Linked DNA regions of Homo sapiens: region 2 is linked to region 1. The links are contacts of gene promoters, found by promoter capture Hi-C in blood cells and fetal thymus (Javierre and others, 2016). All regions are on one chromosome and are shown on one strand. Each heading gives the region's core, a stretch centred on a gene start or on the middle of the fragment in contact. The rest is flanking DNA. Distances are from core to core; before and after follow the strand shown. Region 1 holds the start of GPR135 (G protein-coupled receptor 135). Region 2 holds the start of ACTR10 (actin related protein 10).

Region 1 (7,272 bases), core at 1,948-4,447:
GCTGTGAAACTAACAGGGGAACATGGCCCAATACGTGGGGAAAGGACGGTATCAGTCAAGGGAGGCTTCCCCCATGGACTAACCTTAACGCGAAGATGGGGATGCTAGGGAAGGGAAGAAGAAGATGGAGCTTTCCAGGCAGAGGGGATAGCAAGTGCAAACACCCTAAGATGGAAGGTTTAAGGAAGTCATAAAAGCCAAGTGTGGCAGGAACACAGAAAAAAGAAGGAAAGTGGTACCGAATGAGACTAGAGAGGAAGCAGGGTCAAATCATGCAGTGCCTTGTAGGAAATATTAAGGATTGGGGTCCTTATTCTAAAATAAATGGGGAAAGCCAATAGGATTTTTTTTAAAAGAGACATGGTCTCACTATGTTGCCCAGGCTGGCCTGTAACTACTGGGCTCATACGATCCTCCCTCCTCAGCTTCCTAAGTACCTGGGACTACAGGCACATGCCACTACACTGGCCTAATTAGAAGAGTTTAAATAAGTAAGTGGCATGAAGAATTTTTTTAAGAGCATTATGCCTAGCTGCCTACAATGTAGGAACTGGATGTGGGAAGACCGGTTAGGACAACAGTGACAACAGTAGTCCAAAGAGAGGATGAGAGCCAAGATTCAGGATGGAGGAGATGAATGGATGCAAAGATAGTCCGCAACTAAAATCCATAGGTCTTGGTTGATGAATTGGATGTGGACTGGTGGTAAGGAGGAGGGATTCATCAAGGAAAACTCTTAAGTTTTTGGCTTAAAAGCTAGAAGGATGGTTCTACCATATTCTGAGATACAGAGTATTGAAGACCAAGTTTTACCGGGGAAGTAGGAAGAAGATCATGCACCCATTTGATGTGCCACTGGCACATCAAGGAGAGAGATGCCAAGTAGCAGGACATGTAGGTTGGGGCCACAGACATAATTTGAGTAATGAATATATAGATTATCTTTGAAGTCCTGGATGTGAGTGAGATGGGGCCGAGGGGGGAGTCCAGAGGAGCTGAGAACAGGGCTTTGATGAACTCCAGCATGTAAAGGCAGGTGGAAGAGGATGAACTGGCAGAGGAGAGGACACTGAGAAAGATGAGGAAGGAAGGAAGCAGAAGAGTGCAGTCCTTCTGGTCCTTCTGAACCATGCACTTGCTCACGGCCCTCCCTTATGCTATTAGCCCCTCCTCCCCTGATGAAGTTCAGTCTCCAGAGCATGGCCTACAAGGCCCATCATAAGGTAGCCCCAATAAACTTTGATCATTTATTTCCTTCTTCACTCCCCATCTCCAATATCCTAGAATTCAGACACTGCTCACTTCAACACTAACCTCCAGACTTTGCACATTCATCAAATGTTCTTTCCCTTTCTTCTTTTTTTAAAAAGTCTAATGTCACCTCTTGTACAAAGTCTTTGTCAGGAAGACAAATAATTTCACTCACATATTTTTAAGACAATATTTAGCACACTGTAATATACTGTGTTGGCCGGTGGCTTAAGCTTATTTGGGCTGGGTTTCCTATCTTATATGTTGTTTCCTAAAACTAAGCACAATCTGAGAAGATTGTGTTTGCCAAATAAATTAATGTATGATAATTATATTTTTGCTTTGATTGACAAAATTAAGACAAAATCAGTCTAGATTAAGCTGGCATTGACTGCTCCCAAGAGGATATTTGGCAATATCTGAAGACAGTTTTAGTTGTCACAGCTGGGAGAGGTGCTACTGGCATCTCGTAGGTAGGAACTAGGGATGCTGCTGAACATCATACAATGTATAGATGGCCCCTGCAATAAAGAATTATCTGGCCCAAAAGTCCATGACGCTTAGGCTGACAAACCCAGTTTTGGTTTGCCACCTTAAACGTTCTTCTATTTATACTGTAAATTTCCTGTAGGATATTTTTTCTGAATGAAATAAGCACTCCAATACTAATACCATTGATTCTAAGATCTACAAATATACTAGTCATTCTTTAGAGCAGTGTTTCTCAAATTTGTGCATCAGAATCACTGGGAGGGCTTGTTAAAACATAGGTGCCTGGGCCCCACCACAGGAGTTTCAGTAGATCAGGGGTATCCTATGCACTGTAGGCCTGATAATTTGTATTTCTCAAGGTTTCCAGGGGATGTTGATGCTGCTGGTCCAATGTCCATACTCTGTGAACCACTGCTTTAGCGAAGAGCCCAGGGTTAGTTAACCTGAGGGTTTATCACACTTTTCCCCATTAGAGGCCATGCCCAGAAACTTGAGATGCAACTTCCCTGGGTAGCCCTGCCTTTCTTTTCCCCGTATCTCCCAGCCAGGTACCTGGAGCTGCATCTGTGGTGATTGCCAGGCTGGCAGCACCTTAGACTCAAAACATACCCCATTCCTGAGAACAGATGAAGGCTGCTAGCAGGGCAAGGCACCAATCCCTCTCCCCCCATTTATCAGCCAGTAGGGGCCTGAGGTCCAGGCCCTTGGAAATGAAGTAACATCTAAAGGAACTATCCTAGCTCCTCAGAGCACCTGTATCAGAATCACCTACGGGGTTTAGAGTCATGGGCCCATCCTTAGTAATTCTGTCAGCCTGGGAATCTGCATTTTATGAAACTCTTGACATCAGTGCTTCTGTAAGTGTGGTCCTGGGACCAGCATCATCATCACCACCCGCGAACCCGTTAGAGATACAAATTCTTGGGTACTTCCCCAGACATATTCGAAACGCTGGGGTTCAGACCTCGTCACTTGTATTTTAACACGCCCTCTATGTGAATTCTGTTAGCTCAAGTTTGAGAATTACTGGTTTAAATTAGTCTGCTTCTCAAGTTTAAGATGTCTGGATGTAGACTTCTGGATTTTTCTTTCACTTCACTTTCTAGATTCCTTTCCTACCTGTATATACCAAAAGCACCCACAGGAAGCAGAGTGCCCCCCCCACCACTCCCCAAAAGGCCTGCCTGTAGAACATTTGTACCCTACAAAAGAGAGCAAGAGTGAACTTTCGTTGAATCTGGTCATTTGTTTGCATGCCAGTCGGCACTTTATCTGGCCGGACATTGGTCCCTCAGGAGGTCGACCTGGCACTCTCGGAAACCCGAACACCCGGGCCGGTAACCTCCGGAGTGGCGGTGTCGCGGGTCGGCTTTGCAGCGGGTACTGGGCTGCCGTCCCGCCCCGCGCTCCTGCGTAAACACGCGGTTCCCTCGGCAACGCTGGAACCCACGTCAAAGGCTCCGCCAGGTCCCCAGCGACCGCCACCCCTCCGGCCGAGCCCAGCTCCCCGCGGCGGCCGCTAGCCCCCGGCCCCGAGCCACCACTCCGACCTAGCGGCCGCCGCCCCCGGTGCGGGATGAGGAGATCCGCGGCCGCCACTGGGCCCCATGGAGGAGCCGCAGCCGCCCCGCCCACCAGCGAGCATGGCCTTACTGGGCAGCCAGCACTCCGGCGCCCCCTCCGCGGCCGGCCCACCTGGCGGGACTTCCTCCGCGGCCACGGCGGCCGTGCTCTCCTTCAGCACCGTGGCGACCGCGGCGCTGGGGAACCTGAGCGACGCAAGCGGAGGCGGCACAGCTGCCGCTCCCGGTGGCGGCGGCCTTGGCGGGTCCGGGGCAGCGCGGGAGGCGGGGGCGGCGGTGAGGCGGCCGCTAGGCCCGGAGGCGGCGCCGCTGCTGTCGCACGGAGCTGCAGTGGCGGCCCAGGCGCTCGTCCTCCTGCTCATCTTCCTGCTGTCTAGCCTTGGCAACTGCGCGGTGATGGGGGTGATTGTGAAGCACCGGCAGCTCCGCACCGTCACCAACGCCTTCATCCTGTCGCTGTCCCTATCGGATCTGCTCACGGCGCTGCTCTGCCTGCCCGCCGCCTTCCTGGACCTCTTCACTCCGCCCGGGGGTTCGGCGCCTGCCGCCGCCGCGGGGCCCTGGCGCGGCTTCTGCGCCGCCAGCCGCTTCTTCAGCTCGTGCTTCGGCATCGTGTCCACGCTCAGCGTGGCGCTCATCTCGTTGGACCGTTACTGCGCTATCGTGCGGCCGCCGCGGGAGAAGATCGGCCGCCGCCGCGCGCTGCAGCTGCTGGCGGGCGCCTGGCTGACGGCCCTGGGCTTCTCCTTGCCCTGGGAGCTGCTCGGGGCGCCCCGGGAACTCGCGGCGGCGCAGAGCTTCCACGGCTGCCTCTACCGGACCTCCCCGGACCCCGCGCAGCTGGGCGCGGCCTTCAGCGTGGGGCTGGTGGTGGCCTGCTACCTGCTGCCCTTCCTGCTCATGTGCTTCTGCCACTACCACATCTGCAAGACGGTGCGCCTGTCGGACGTGCGCGTGCGGCCGGTGAACACCTACGCGCGCGTGCTGCGCTTCTTCAGCGAGGTGCGCACGGCCACCACCGTCCTCATCATGATCGTCTTCGTCATCTGCTGCTGGGGGCCCTACTGCTTCCTGGTGCTGCTGGCCGCCGCCCGGCAGGCCCAGACCATGCAGGCCCCCTCGCTCCTCAGCGTGGTGGCCGTCTGGCTGACCTGGGCCAATGGGGCCATCAACCCTGTCATCTACGCCATCCGCAATCCCAACATTTCGATGCTCCTAGGGCGCAACCGCGAGGAGGGCTACCGGACTAGGAATGTGGACGCTTTCCTGCCCAGCCAGGGCCCGGGTCTGCAAGCCAGAAGCCGCAGTCGCCTTCGAAACCGCTATGCCAACCGGCTGGGGGCCTGCAACAGGATGTCCTCTTCCAACCCGGCCAGCGGAGTGGCAGGGGACGTGGCCATGTGGGCCCGCAAAAATCCAGTTGTACTTTTCTGCCGAGAGGGACCACCAGAGCCGGTGACGGCAGTGACCAAACAGCCTAAATCCGAAGCTGGGGATACCAGCCTCTAAGACGGTTGGAATGGCCAGCTTATGAAGGCAAATTTCCACTCGCATTATTTAATGATGGAAGATTCTGGGGGAGAGTTGTGGATTTCATAAAGCCAAACATTTAAAGCTAGAGACGGGGGAGGCTTACCACTTTCCCCAAACAACATAAAAGACAATGTCCCTTCTTCAAAAGTGCCAAAAGGAATGTAAAATGCAAAAATTAAAACAATCTTAAACCACATAACCAAGCATTGTGAACTGTAAGTGCCAAAAATGACAAAAATAACATTCACTATAACTGAAAAGCTCATATTATAGGACCACACTGTGAAACAAACAAAACATTGAATGCAACCAGTATTGTTCAACTACACAGAATTTCAGGAATGAATGGAGACCTTCAGAGCTGCTTGAAAGCCCCTCTAAATCGCTACCATCCAACAAAACTTTAGCTTCTAGAGCTTGCACCTCTGACATGCTTTGGGTGCTTAGATTGCAAGTGGAAAAGTCTTATCCTTACACACATTGGTGCACCTCCTCACCCCACCCCCTAATAACCTTTGTGGAAAATTTTTAATTCATAACCCATTTAAAATCATTTTAGGATTTTGAAAAGCTGGTTATTATTAGATAAAATTCAACCATCTGAAGGACAAATAGAAGTATGAACATAAAGAAATGTGTCTTTTAAATGTTTTCCAAGATTATATGTAAAAATTAACATTCCTTCCACCCGCGTCATACCTCCAAAATGATCTTCCTTGGAAAACTTTGAAGTTTTATCCTTACTCTAACCTGTTACTTTTATTTCTGATAAATTTTGGAATGCTGCTCTCAGAATGCTTTCACATTTAAAAAAATATTTTCATTGTAGAAAATTTTTGTCTTTTGAGGTAAATTTGATTTTTGGATATAGCCAAAAATGTAATTTGAAGTCAAGTTGATTGAATAAGGTGAGTGATGCCACTTTATTTAAATTTTTATTATTTTTTAAAATGAGACCTCTATAAAACAACAAGGTTGGGTTTCCTACGTGGCTTTTAGCTAACTGAAAACGATTCCAAAGAGAAATTCTAAAACTATTTTGAGAAGCAGCCTCTTGGAATTAGCGTAGACTTTTCCAAATAGATCATACCCTCCTACATTTAGAAATTTGGTATATTTTGTATTTTTTAAAATAGCTGATGGTTGCTTTATAGCTATGACTTGTCGAAGATAATGTATTTATTAAAGGGAGAATAGGTGTGGGACTATATGTAACGGTATTAAAACACAGGCATAAAGTTGGAGAAGAACTTCAAGCAAACTGAAAATATCTTTAGAAATATGCAAATCAAAGATGCTTTTTAAATTTCTATCTTAGCAGAAAAGATGGTTTTACAATAATTCAAAAGCGTATGTGAACTTTCTAATGTTAAATACGACTATACACAGAATCATTTACTCAGAATTTTTTTAAATATTATTTTTCCCTTTCTTTTCCTCCATCCTGCCCCTTTTCTTCAGTATTTCATAGCCTTAATTGAACAAGTTATTTACAGTAGATATGAAAAGACATTAGCTGTCGTATGAAGATTTCAATGTGAAATAGCCAGCATTTTCTTCCTGTAAAGTATTTAAATATGTTTTTAAGTATTTCTTTGTTTGACAGGTGGGTACATGTCATTATTTTGTAATCAAAGGTGGAAATATATGAGTCATGTCAGAGCTAAAGATGTTTTAATTTTTTCTGCTTCTCAGGGTATCATCACAAATCAGAAGTTTGTAAATTGTATATATTTTGCTACACTCAATGTAGTACAAAGTAGATGAGATAATCCCTCCCCTCTAGCCCTTATTTTATAAAGCATATACAGACTTCATGCAGCTGGACTAACAAAAACAGGTGTCTGCGGTATTTGCCTGTTAAAGGCAAAAAATTGTGTATTTTTTGGCACCGAGTCACTTTTGGGATTTAGAGAGAAATGATAAAGTCTTCAATTATAAAAGACATCATAGAATAGAAGTACAGTTGTGAATAAAGGGCAGAGGGTTAGAGATCTTAGAGTAAGGAGGTGAGCGTGTTGCAAAATAGTGTGTTGCCTGAGAAGAAGAATTGAAGGAAGGCATTGAAAAATAAATGTGATATAGAATAAACCTACCTGGTGAGTGAAGGGAAAATCTGAGAGATTGGAAGTGACAAGGTGATGGCATGAAGGACTTTAAGGAAGAAAAGGAATTCCAGCCCTACCTTTTCGGTGGCAGGAAGTTTTAGGAAAGGCATGGCTTGTGAAAGAGGCCATTCTGTTAGTGGCTCCGAGAGTCATGGTAGGCAAGAATTGGAGGGGAAAAAGAGAAAATTGTTCATAAATTACTGAACAATTTACAATGCTCTAAATTGTTTGTTTTTAATCCAAGGCTATCCAACTATTTAGTGGTAGAACTAGGATTTGAACTGCAGTCTGTTTGGCCTCAGAAC
Region 2 (7,696 bases), core at 2,429-4,928, 1.3 Mb after region 1:
GTGAATTTTATAACATGCAAAATCATTCTTTCTACTGGTTGTAATTTCTAATCTGCCAAATTAGCTGTGGCAAGAAACTTTTTGAAAGTTTGTTTTCAAAATTCTCTGGGTTTTGAAACTGTAAATAAGGGAATAAATATCTGATATATTATAAATAATAAAATAATTCAGTGGTTATAAGACTTATAAAAGTATTTTACTGAAGTTAAAATTTTTCTCTTGATATATGATTCCATTTACATAAAATGTACAGAAAAGACAAATCTATAGAAACAGAAGGTACACCCTAATGGGCTGAGGATAGGAATGAGGATTAATTGTAAACGGGTATTAGGGATTTTACTGGGGTGATGAAAACATTCTAAAACTGGATTGTGGTGGTACTTGTACAACATGATATACTTATGGTGTGCAAAATTAGACCTTGATAAAGTTGATTTAAAAAGAAAAACTTTTCCTTGGAAATATAGCCACAAAGTATATATTTAGTACTGTTTCTTGTTTCTTTTTTTTTTTTTTTTTTTGAGACGAAGTCTTGCTCTTGCCCCCCAGGCTGGAGTGCGATGGCTTGATTTTGGCTCACTGCAACCTCCGCCTCCCGGGTTCAAGCAATTCTCCTGCCTCGGCCCCCTGAGGAGCTGGGATTAGAGGTGCCTGCCACCACTCCCGGCTAATTTTTGTATTTTTAGTTGAGACAGGGTTTCACCATGTTGTCCAGGCTGGTCTCAAACTCCTGATCTCAGGTGATCCACCCGCCTCAGCCACCCAAAGTGTTGGGATTACAGGCGTGAGCCACCACGGCTGGCCTTTAGTACTGTTTTAATCAATCTTACTTGAAGTCATATTTTAAAACATTTTATAGTATGGCATTTATTTTGCTAATATTTTTTTTTAAATACCTTAGGCATCCCAGCTCTTTTTATCACACTAGGAATTATACATCTTGGACCAGTTTCTCCAGCAAATCCACACCTGCAAATAAATGGAAAATTGAAACAACTTATAGTATTCTTTTAAATATTTGTCACAGAAACTAATTTTCTCTGTATTTGTTTCAAAACAATGGCCACAATAACATTTGAAAATACCTGATGTATTTTAAGGGATCAAAAAAAATCACTCCACAAAACTAATAATACTATTTATTAATGCTTGTGTATTAACAGAAAAAAATTCTATGAAATTCGTGATGCTGAAAAAAACAAATGTATTATTTTAGGGCAGCATTTACTTTTTTTTTTTTGAGATGGAGTCTGGCTCTGTCACCCAGGCTGGAGTGCAGTGGCGCGATCTCGGCTCACTGCAAGCTCCGCCTCCCGGGTTCACGCCATTCTCCTGCCTCAGGCTCCTGAGTAGCTGGGACTACAGGTGCCGGCCACCACGCAGGGCTAATTTTTTTTTTTTTTTTTAGTAGAGACGAGGTTTCACCGTGTTAGCCAGGATAGTCTCGATCTCCTGACCTCGTGACCCGCCCGCGTCGGCCTCCCAAAGTGCTGGTATTACAGGCGTGGGCCACCGCGCCTGGCCAACTTTTTTCCTAGTTGTTAATTTTAGCAGAATTTAGGCAAGACATATCTACAACTCTGAATCTGTACTACATTATGTGACTTCATTCATATAATTCATCTGTATCACTCATAATTCCATCATTCTAATATTGTTAGCTTCCATATTGGTGTATTCACTTTCAGTCTACTTCTTATGATTATGCATATATATTTGACATAGTTTTAATCACACTTCATACATAATTAACTCATACAGTAAGCTTCTGCCCATATTAACATAATCTTCATTGCTATCACTTTTTTTTTTTTTTTTTTTGAGGCAGGGTCTCGCTCTGTCGCCCAGGCTGGAGTGCAGTGGCACAAACTCAGATCACTGCAGCCTCCGCTTCCCAGGCTCAAGCGATCCTCCCCCCTTGGCCTCCCAAAGTGCTAGGATTTCGGGCACGACACTACCGCCGGCTAAATTTTGTATTTTGTGTAGAGCTGGGTTTCCCCATGTTGCCCAGGCTGGTCTTGAACTACTGGGCTCAAGTGGTCAGCCCGCCTCAGCTTTCCAAACTGCTGGAATTACAGTATTATTTTTAAAACCACATATTTCATTATTTTAAAAACGATGCTCTTTTCTTGAGTATTTAGGTATTTCCATTTTTGTTTCATGTTAGTAAAACAAAAATTTGCTAAAAACGTTGCTAAAAATGATCATCATACTAGTTTAGTCTTAACATCCTGTCTTCTTGTCCTGTCTAGTTTTTGATACTGCTCTCCTCGTATTCCCAAATAATTCTCTCCATCTCCTCCTATTCCCGTCTCCATGTTTACTTGCATCAGTGCTCCTCAAACATCTCAGAATGCAAGCCATTAGACTTCAATTCCTTTTTTTTACTTCATACATTTATCTTATCATCCTCCTGCTGTCTTTTTCAAATATAGCTTTTTGCTTATTTCTTCCAAGTACAGCCAAAATAATTATCTTTGACTAGAAGCCTCGAACTGTTTATTACGCTTTCAAAATAATTTTAATAAGAAAATATAAATAAGGAAGGGCCTCGCATAGAACAATAAGAGAATGTCATTAACCAAGGACTATGTTTAATCCAATTCTGGAGTTCCTGGGGTCCAATTTTTAAATAGGCTCTTTTAACCACTTAGTCAATAAATAGTTATTAAATACCTACTACACGTCAGGAAGTGCCTAGAGATATAAAAAGATTTTTCAAATGTTTCATTTTCATAAATACATATATGATGTAATTGCCTGTTACTTCCCTCTCTGTTGAGCCCATCACAAGGACTCTTAATCTAGGGTCCCAGGACCACATTGATTGTCTGCCAATTCCCTGAAACTGTGTATAAGTACCTTAAGATTTGTGCATTTGTGGTTTTCATCCAGCCATTAAAGAGATCTATGCCATCCGAAAGGTTGAGAACCTCCTCTCTATTGTTTACAAGTTGGTTTGTTTAAAACATGTCAAATCTAACCTTCGAGTTTAGGGGAGCCAACAAAGGATTTCCAGAATCTTATCTATAGGGTTTCACCTCTTAATGTGCCCAGTCTCCCTAATTCTTGAGCAGCGATAGCCCTGTCTTAAACATCTTTCCATTTTCAGCACCAAAATAAACTCCGTTCAATATTTTATGATGAAATTCGTCATCGAGCATTTACATTCGGTTGGCTGCCTTCCTCAACTGAGGAGCCCAGGGTAAGCGGGGTCTAGGTCACGGTTGTCATCCCCTACACAGATGATCCCAAAGGGTTTGTTGGGTTTGGGGTGATGACAAGGGGCGGCGACGAGGGCAATTCAACAGAAGCTTTCTGGGCCTCTCTGGGAGTCAGACCCCGATCCTCGGATTCGCATCGCCCAGGGAGGAAATAATAAGAGCTGTTATTTGCAAGGGCGCTGGTTGAAGAAAAGGGGAGGCCCGGAGCTGCCCAGCGAGTCGGCGATGAGGACCCAGGCAGTGCCTGGGGCTCTGCCACCCGCCCTCCCCTCGGGTCGAACACAGCTGGCGTCACGGCCACTCACTTGGTAAAGGCCTCTCCCAGGTCGATCACGACCGCCGTCTTCTCCCCGCCGCTCCCCAGGCCCTCGTAGAGCGGCATGGTAGTAAGGCAGACTGAGAGAAGAGGGTCGCAGTCTCCGCGGCCAACAAGTCTCGGCGCTCGCGGGGCGGGGCCGGGGCTCCGGCGCTCGGGCGTCGGCGACGGCGGGGGCCTCGCGCGGCCGCGGCGCGCCGGGCCCGGGCTGTCCCAGGCTGTGCCTCATTCCGCGTTGGACCCACCCTTGCAGGTGCTGCCGTCGCCAGGACTAGGGGAAAAGAGGCGCTGGCGGGCGCGAATCCGAGTGCGGGGGCGCGGAGGCCGCGGCGATCAGGCGCGCCGGTCGCCCTGAGGGGGCGGAGCCGGCCTCCCTATCCTTCCCTCCCACCACGCCCCAAAGCCGCACCCACGCGCGGCTGTGAAGAGGTTCGGTCTCAGCTCACTGTGAAGAGGTCACTGAGGACCTGGCTGCCAAGGGGCAGCCGAGAGACGACGCAATTCCGAACCTTTGATTCATGCTCTTGGGGGGCAGAAGATGCTGAGACCCTATTCTGTGCTAGGCGTTTTGCCTAATATTTAATCTTCTCAAGAAATAACAAGAATATGTGTTTTCTTATCTGTGGGGACCGACGCTCAGAGAGATTAACTTTCCCAATGTCCCACGGCAGAGCCAGGAACAAACCCACAGACTTCCTAATTGCAAAGCCTATGCTAATGATGCTTTAGAGAATAATACGTACAGACAATACTTTAGTTAGTAGTCTTTCTGAAAGTTTTTATTTTACTCCAGAATTAAGCAGCTAGAGTAGCGTCTGTGAATCTTGAATCTGTCCATAGAGGAGCGGTCGGGATGGTTTAATAGAAGAAACATTGAAGCAAAGGCCCCTATTAGGTTGGTGCAAAAGTAATTGCTGTTTTTGCCACTACTTTTAACATTTACATTACTGTTTACATCTTTGTCACTTCACAGCTTTCTGTGAAAATATTTTTTTCCTGCAAATATTAGCTCTAACTGTATCTATGCATAGGAGTGGAAAAGACTGTCAAAGGAGAGGCTGTGCAATAAGAAAAGAGGTTCAAGGGTAAATCGGTGAGGACTAGCAACATTTAGCTGGTGTACTGGGTTGAATGATGCCCCCCCCCCCAAAATTCTTGTCCACTGGGAACCTCAGAATGTGACCCTATTTGGAAATAGAGTCTTGGCAGATGTAATCAAGTTAAGATGAGGTTATACTGTATTAAGATGTCCCAACTGTCCGAGCGCAGGATCACACCTGTAATCCCAGCACTTTGGGAGGCCGAAGCGGGAGGATCCCTTGAGCCCAAGAAGTCTAAAGCGGCAGTGAGTCGGGATTGTGCCGCTGCACTCCAGCCTGGGCAACAACAAGAGTGAGAGCCTGTCTCTCAAAAAAAAAAAAAAAAAAAAAAAAGGCCCTACTCTAATGGTTGGTAACTAGAGTTAGCGGGGTAGTTGGGGATAAGCTATTTCCATAACAAAAACTAAGGCTGTAACAATGCAGAAATTTGGAATGTGATATTAGTAAAATTCATGTTTAAGTCCAAATTACTGATCAATGATCCTCCTTGAAAGCAAATTCCTGGAGACAGGAGAATGAAGTTGGAGTTGTGACGGGGAAGAAAACTTTAAGAAACGTGGGAAGAGATTAAATTTTTTGCTTAATAGAGTCAGATTATTTGAATAGGACCCCTTACTTGAGTTCAGATTCTGTTTCTGCCACTTTCTGTCAAGTCCCTAATACCTCTGATCGTCCACTTCCTTATCTGTAAACTGTTCTGCTGCTTCACAAGGTATTTGTAAGGATCAATTTGAAATTATGTTTCTGAAACTATTGAAATGATGAAGTTTGTTATTACCTATTCTATGTTTTCCATGACAGCTCACCAGCTGTATTTGTTAGCTAGGGACTGCCGTAACAAAGTACCACAAACGGTGGTTCAAGGAAACAAAAAATTTATTCTTTCACACTTCTGGAGGTGAGAAGTCAGAAATCAAGGTGTCAGCAAGAGCAAGGTCATGCCCTCTTTGAAGGCTCTTGAGGAGGATCCTTTCTTGTCTTTTTTTTTTTTTCTTTTTTTGAGATGGAGTCTCGCTCTGTCACCCAGGTTCGATCTCAGCTCACTGCAGCCTCCGCCCCACCAGGTTCAAGTGATTCTTCTGCCTCAGCCTCTGGAGCAGCCGGGATTACAGGCACCTGCCACCACGCCCAACTATTTTTTTTTGTTTGTTTTGGATTTTTAGTAAAGATAGGGTTTCACCATGTTGGCCAGGCTGGTCTCGAACTCCTAACCTCAGGTGATCTGCCTGCCTTGGCCTCTCGAAGTGCTGGGATTACACCGCGCCCAGCTTTTTTTTTTTTTTTTTTTTTTTTTAACAGAGTCTCGTTCTGTCATCCAGGCTGGAGTGCAGTGGTGCAACCTTGGCTCACTGAACCCCAGACTGGGCTCAAGCAATTCTCCTGCCTCACCTTCCCAAGTAGCTGGGACTGCAGGCATGTGCCACCTTGCGTGGCTAATTTTAACATCTTTTGTAGAGATGGGTTTCACCGTGTTGCCCAGGCTGGTCTTAAACTACTGAGCTCCGGTGATCCGCCTTCCTAAGCCTCCCAAAGTGCTGAGATAACAGGCATGAGCCACCGTGCCTGGCCTTCTTTCTTGCCTTTTCCTAGCTTCTGGTGGTTGCTGGCAATCTTTGATGTGCCTTTGCTTGTAGATACATAACTCCAATCTCTGCCTCTGTCATCACTTGGCCTTCTTCGCTGTGTCTGCATTTTTCACATTATGTACTCCTCCCTGTGTCTTCACATCACTTTCCTTCTGTGTGTGTCTCTGTGTCCAGATTTCCCTCCTTTTTTCTTAATTGTTTTCTTTTTTATTTTTTCTGTATTCGGCTGAACAAATTTCCCTCTTCTTGTTTATTTTTATTTTTATTTTTTTTGAGACGGAGTTTCACTCTTGTCGCCCAGGCTGGAGTGCAGTGGCGCGATCTCAGCTCACTGCAACCTCTGCCACCTAGGTTCAAGCAATTCTCCTGCCTCAGCCTCCCAAGTAGCTGGGATTACAGGCACCTGCCACCATGCCTGGCTAATTTTTTGTATTTTTAGTAGAGATGGGATTTTGCCATGTTGGCCAGGCTGGTCTCGACTCCTGACTTCAAGTGACCCGCCCGCCTCGGCCTCCCAAAGTGCTGGGATTACAGGCATGAGCCTCTGTGCCCGGCCTCCCTCTTCTTCTGAGGATATCAGTTACTGGCTCAGGGTCCATCTTAACCCAGTATGACTTCATCTTAACTTGATTACATTTGCAAAGGATCTAATTCCAAATATAGTCACATTCTAAGATTTCTGTTCACACGAATTTTGGGGAGGACACTATTCAACCCAGTACACAACCTAAATGTTGTTGTTCTCCATGGTTCTGCTCTTGAACCTCTTTTCTTATTGTACACCCTCTCCTTTGCCAATCTCTTCCACTCCCATAGATACAGCTAGAGATAATATTTGTTGAGTTCTATTTGCTAGCTCTCCTTGCTATATATGATCCCATTTATTCCTCACAGCAACTTTATGAGTTAAGTGTTATTGTTACTAGAAAGGGGTCTCAATCCAGACCCCAAAAGTGTTCTTAGACCTCGCACAAGAAATAGTTCGGGGCAAGTCCATAGAGTAAAATGAAAACAAGTTTATTAAGAAAGTAAAGGAATAAAAGAATGGCTACTCATAGGCAGAGCAGCAGCGTGAGCTGCTTAACTGCTTATACTTATCATTACTTCTTGATTATATGCTAAACAAGGGGTGGATTATTCATGGATTTTCTGGGAAAGGGTTGAGCAATTCCTGGAACTGAGGGTTTCTCCCCCTTTTAGACTACATAGGGTAACTTCCTGATGTTGCCATGGCATTTGTAACTGTTGTGGCACTGGTGGGAATGTCTTTTCAGGTGCCTTGACATTATATTCTTCATGTTTCTTTTGTTTGGGATTAAGTGAACTTGGACCTGTGGTTTTATAGTTTTCATCAAATTTGGAATATTTTGACCTTTGTTTCTTCAAGTAATTTTTCTATACTGACTCTTCTCCTTTGGGTAGTCCAAGTACATATGTTATTAGGTGGTTTAAAGCTTTCTCGTAGCT

Evidence for each region. The method cuts DNA at HindIII sites, captures the fragments that hold promoters and counts their contacts. A CHiCAGO score of 5 or more calls a contact.
Region 2: a contact is called between the fragment with the promoter of ACTR10 here and the fragment with the promoter of GPR135 in region 1, in 2 of 17 cell types (total CD8 T cells and non-activated CD4 T cells). The highest score is 7.3, in total CD8 T cells.

Annotation. Positions count from the first base shown.
Region 1 is chr14:59,461,305-59,468,576 of GRCh38, reverse strand. It overlaps GPR135 (G protein-coupled receptor 135), which reads left to right and starts at 3,197. Exons shown (of 1, transcript NM_022571.6): 1 at 3,197-7,272. The coding sequence starts at 3,351. The coding sequence ends at 4,835. It also overlaps a transcript of L3HYPDH not described here. RefSeq lists a silencer at 3,127-3,666. The HindIII fragment of the contact is 8,985 bases long and covers 1,487-7,272 here.
Region 2 is chr14:58,196,131-58,203,826 of GRCh38, reverse strand. ACTR10 (actin related protein 10) reads right to left here and starts at 3,678. Exons shown (of 13, transcript NM_018477.3): 1 at 3,533-3,678; 2 at 900-972. The coding sequence starts at 3,609. RefSeq lists enhancers at 3,296-3,485, 4,106-4,235 and a silencer at 3,646-4,035. The HindIII fragment of the contact is 4,366 bases long and covers 3,320-7,685 here.